Linked DNA regions of Homo sapiens: region 1 is linked to region 2. Evidence: promoter capture Hi-C in human tissues and cell types (Jung and others, 2019). All regions are on one chromosome and are shown on one strand. The core of a region is centred on a gene start or on the middle of the fragment in contact, and the rest is flanking DNA. Distances in the headings are between cores, read along the strand shown.

The links. Contacts are between HindIII fragments. The study calls those that stand out against the background at their distance.
Region 1: a contact is called between a fragment that was not itself captured here and the fragment with the promoter of HABP2 in region 2, in 1 of the 25 tissues and cell types used here (dorsolateral prefrontal cortex).

The regions. Positions count from the first base shown.
Region 1 is chr10:112,707,761-112,710,460 of GRCh38, forward strand. The region is part of intron 7 of VTI1A (vesicle transport through interaction with t-SNAREs 1A); the gene reads left to right. Among named protein-coding and RNA genes, the nearest start is that of MIR4295, 75 kb to the left of the region's middle. RefSeq lists a silencer at 2,110-2,404. The HindIII fragment of the contact is 5,775 bases long and covers 1-2,700 here.
Region 2 is chr10:113,551,705-113,554,404 of GRCh38, forward strand. It overlaps HABP2 (hyaluronan binding protein 2), which reads left to right and starts at 1,349. Exons shown (of 13, transcript NM_004132.5): 1 at 1,349-1,486. The coding sequence starts at 1,418. The HindIII fragment of the contact is 9,394 bases long and covers 1-2,700 here.

The DNA.
Region 1 (2,700 bases), core at 50-2,549, 840 kb before region 2:
AAAAATTTTAAAGTTATTGTCCTAAATTGGAAGATGATGTATTTTAACATAAAGAGTATTAGACTCTGCCAGAATTATTTATTTGAGATTGACTATGAGCTATAAAAGTCTGTTTGGTTCATGTAATTGCCTTTTAGTTTTTTTGCTACCCTCAGCTGTAAAACATCAAACAAAATTAGCAGCTGCAGTCCTGGTTGCACTTTATTAAACATCTAGCCAATTTTTTCACCCCTGTTCCTGGTGAAGTTTATTTAGGTAAAAGGTTGATAACATTCTTTACCGCCAAAGAAAGCAGGTTCATTTCTGTTAGACAGTTCTATCCTGATAACATTGAAGAAGCTAAACACAAGGACTCATTGCTTCTCACTGGTATCAGTGGGCCTGTCCTTCCACTGTGCTAGCCAGGTGTGTAAAGTATGTAATTTCACATGCAAAATAGAATAATTGTGTGGTATGTGTATACAGCATGTATATTACTGTAGGTTTGTTGAAATACAAAATAATTCTGAAATGTTTGCATTTTGAAAAAGACTTGGCCTCCACCAGGCACTAATGTGCAGTATGCATTGTTTATACATGGGCATATTTATATAAACAGGGTTACAGGTCTGTGTAAAGAAGTTACATTGATTACAAGAGCTAATATAAGCTTGGGAATATTTGTGTTAATACTTCAGTTTTTTTCAAATAAGGTCCCATGTATTTCTTACATAGAAGACTGTTTCCTAAAAGTGGTAAAAAGGAAAACACTCATCTCTAATGTTTTATACTGTGCCAGCTACATATTTGACAAGATTCTTTTAGTTATTCTACTTATTAGAGATATTTGTAAAGGAATGTGTTCTGCATACTAATTAGCATTAAGCAGTATCTTTGACAGAAGCGAGTCACCAGCTATTCTAAGTAAGAACTGAAGAACTTTTGGATGGCATGGAATATTTCAAATATTTCACCATTCAGCAGTCTAGCTCGTGATGATCAAATACACCAATAAATGCTGCTCATATTTCTATAAACATGGAATTATGTTGTACATGCATCCATTTTGTGTAGCCTTTCCCACTTCGCCGTTTGCCGTGAACATTTCTTCTTGACAGTAAATAGTCTCCTAAAAACATGTTTCGTAGTTACACAGTCTGTCTCCTAAAAGCGCAAAGAGCAGTACTTGGTTTCTGGGTGGAAACCCATAGCTGGCATGTTTATGCCACCCCGCGGTTGCTGGTAGTTTCTGAATCTATGGACTTGCTGGCCCTCCAGCGTCTATTGTCAATTTTCTTAGGGATTATCCCGGGAGGGGTACGTGTCCCCTTCCTCACCTCCATCCTGTTCCTGATTAGACCGCCTTCCTCTGGCATATATTCTCCTTCATCTCACTCACCATCCTCCTCCCTGATTAGTCCCGGCCTTCATTTCATTTCAGTCACCATTTCTCCCCAGGAATTGGCTCCCTTTTTTGTGTCCCTTCTTTAAGAGTGTCTGGTTGCTTTGCTGACAAACACCTCAGAAAAGGGACAGAAAGTTGGAGCCCTGTATTTTCACAGATAAAGAGTATACAATGAAGATTTTTGACCTCTAGTTCCCTAAGAGTGTCTGTCTTCAGACAGAACTGCCCCCCTGGTGCTGTGGGCTGGCCTAGGCCTCTGCTGGCCCTCAGCCTTCTCTGCAATGCAGCCTCTACCTTCCTTCCCAGCCACCCTCCCCTCGCTTGACCTGCACCTCAGCCAGCCGGAACTGCTCCCTGCCTACCAGACTTGCCTCTTGCTCTTAATCTTGCTCATGCCATTCCTCCTGCCTGGACATTTACCTTCTCTTCCCCATAAAAATCCTGCCCATCTTTCAGTTCCCTGTCTTCATGCTGCATCCTCAAAGAAAGGAGAGATCACATTTTTCAGATCTCCCCAACAAGAGGCACTCTATGTGGCTTTTTTTTTTTTTTTTTTTTTTTTTTTTGAGATAGTTTTGCTCTGTTGCCCAGGCTGGAATGCAGTGGCGCAGTCTTGGCTCACTGCGACCTCTGCCTCCTGGGTTCAAGCAATTCTTGTGCCTCGGCCTCCCAGGTAGGTGGGACTATAGGCAGGCACCACCAAGCCTGGCTAATTTTTTGTATTTTAGTAGAGACAGAGTTTCACCATGTTGCCCAGGCTGGTCTCGAACTCCTGAGCTCAAGCAATCCACCTGCCTCGGCCTCCCAAAGTGCTCTGTGTTGCTTTGATTGTACTGCTCTTGTTGGACAGATCTAGTATGCCTTAAGTTTCAGCTGTTTCAGTACCTATCTCATTCCCTCTACTATAGGGTTAACTCCTGGAGAACAAGGAATACAGCTCTCATATTTGAATCTGAAAGCACTCAGCACAGTTGCATTCACATGGAAGGTGCTTGGTAAATATTGGCCCATGAGGATTTTTAAACCTCTGATTTGAATCCATTTGTTGTCCTCCAGTTAATGTCTTTTTTTTTTTTTCTCCGAGATGGAGTCTTGCTCTGTCGCCCAGGCTGGAGTGCATTGGCATGCTCTCAGCTCGCTGCAACCTCTGCCTCCTGGGTTCAAATGATTCTCCTGCCTCGGCCTCCCAAGTAGCTGGGATTACAAGCGTGCACCACCACGCTGCCTAACTTTTGTATTTTTAGTAGAAATGGGGTTTTGCCATGTTGGTCAGGCTGGTCTCAAACTCCTAACCTCAAGTGATCCGCCCACCTTGG
Region 2 (2,700 bases), core at 99-2,598:
CTGAGGCAGGAGAATCACTTGAATCCAGGAGGCAGAGGTTGCAGTGAGCCAAGATCACGCCACTGCACTTCAGCCTGGATGACAGAGTGAGACTCTGTCTCAAAATAATAATAATAATAATAATAAAAAGAAAAAGGGACTACTAACATGGGCTTGTATTATGGTGATCAGGTGGATGTTGATGGTATAGGAGGCGGGGTGGGGGGAGTTGATGGCTGCCTAAAATAGGATGGAGACAAAAATATGTGGATAAAAGAAAATAATGTGGAAGTCATTTAGGAGGTAAAATGGCAGGACCAGGACTTGGCTAGTCCTTCAAGGCTCATCTGGTGACTGGGGCATTCTTTTGGGCTGGGATCTGTGGGGCCCTCCCCGGCTAGCAACTTGGCTTTCAGAAGTAGATGCAGCCACTGATGCAGTCCACGTGCCAAACAGGGATGGCAGGTAGGGGCAGGGCTGGGCAGGGGGGCACAGGTGAGCACATGCCTCCGCTGGCAGCAGCATTTCAAAACCTGGATTTATGACTCAAGTCAGGAGGATTCCTGGAACCCAGGCATAGATTTCTGTGGGCAGTCAGTTGTTTACAGGAGATTAAGATCATGCCTATTAAAGAGATCAATTGTGTCCACAAGAACCCACACTTAATAGGTAATTGCTGCTTGACAGAACTCTACCTGCAACCAGCATAGCTAAATAAGGAACATAGGAAACAATTGTCCTGAAATATGAACACCATGTTTTTTTTCCTCCGCTTGATCAAAGAAAGACTCCAGCAAAAGGGGAAAAAATAATTAAAAAGTAAAAGTCTTACCTAATGAGGTTTAAAACAAAACTTTTGAAGCCAACAAGCAACTGTGGGCAACACTTCAAAGGGCCCAGAATCAATGTTTGTCAATAGCAGTTTTGCATCCTTTAATTTATGTCTCATGAATATAAAGTGTGATGTTATTAGGAGCCCATCCATGCCTTAATTCTGTTTGAGATTTGATGAACCAGAAGTCTATTAACATTCTGTACAAATCAGCACTGGCAGAGGCCTGTGGCACAGGCTTCACCTGATCTTTTATCCTGAGGCTGGGATGCTAGTCACGCTGTCAGGCTTCCTGCTCGGAACACCCAGCAGCTGTCATGTGCACCGTGGAGCCAGGGGGCTATGTCAGCTACTTTCTTTGGAGAGTTTCTCCCCAGAAGAGAAACCACTTCATGACTCAGCCCAGCCCCAAAGTTGCCATTTGTTTAATCAAGATAGTTAGTTTGCAAAACATTAAACATTAAACAGTATTTGATGCCTAGTTAATAATTTGCATCCTCTTCATTTGTTCCTGAATCCTTGGAGACTGACATTTTTCCCCCCTAAAGGCATAGACAACAAAAGAAATTTTATTGAGAGGAAAACACAAGTCCTTAAACTGCAAAGATGTTTGCCAGGATGTCTGATCTCCATGTTCTGCTGTTAATGGCTCTGGTGGGAAAGACAGCCTGTGGGGTAAGTGTTCTTTTCTAATATTTGTAGTTGAGAGACTCCGAAGTTTACTAGGAGGACCAAGCTAGGCTGGGAGTGATGAGAAACTTTAGAGTGAAAGGCTGGAGTTGCCAAGTTGGAGATGTTCTAACTACAAGAACCAATGCAGGCCTGTGGCTTGGTTTCTTTTGAGCAGCCACTCCCATGGGAACAGGTGTCTGACTTGAGCCATCTTGGAGCGGAGCCTCCATGAATGCATTCCAGCAAAGGAGACTGGGGCAAGAAAATGTGCCCCAGGGCATGGATTGTAATCTGTCATGGATCTCATAGACCCCTTTGAGAAGCCATGGAAAGCTATAAACTCTCTCCCCAGGAAAATATACCTATCTATTGGTGCTGACACACACAGTTTTCCAGCGATTTGTGGCTGACACTAGGGTAAGAAGCAATGTGCTATGGCCTTAGAGGGGAAGCCTGCTGACTGCAAAAGATCCTGGCAGTGGGTCTGCATAAATAGTTTGGATTTGGGGAGAAGCTTTGTGTTTAGTACTTTGTCTCCTTTTCCCTGTGACAGCAGCAGATGAGGCAGAGAAGGTGAGCAGGGGCCCAAGGGAGGTTGCAGTGCGCAGGGAAGGGAAGTCCCATCAGAGAGTCTTGAACGGGGGACTCAGGACCTTCCGGAGCAGATGACTTGTCAAGATGTTAGTTCCTTCTGTGTGCCATGGTCCAAGAGTGTCAGATGGATCTCTGTGGGCATGGAAAGAGGACCTTGCACAGAAATAGAGTCTCCTTGGAGTTCCGTGCTGGTTGTGGTCTGAGGCATGAATGTGGGCTTTGGAGCCAGGGTTCGAATCTCAGCTTTGCCACATTCTAGCTGTGGAATGTTGGGCAAGGAACATAATCTCTCTGAGCCTCAGTGTTGTCTTCTGCAAATCAAGTGCTAACCTCTCATAGATTTGGGGAGGGCCACAAGTAAACGAGGTCATGTATGTGGCTTGCAAATAAATGTGAGCTCTACTCCCTTAAAATGTCAAGAATGAACACAACTTCTCCATAAAAATCAGAGAATGCTCCGCCTTGTTCGGGAGGGGTGGTAGAAAGTGGGCAGAGGATAAGAACTAAAATAACAGTCATAACCTCTCTGTCTTATTAAGTACCTTTGCATTTTGTTCCCCATTTCACTCCATAGAGCGTTTCCTGAATGAAGCAGATTAAGTTACAGTTTTCTGATTAGCATG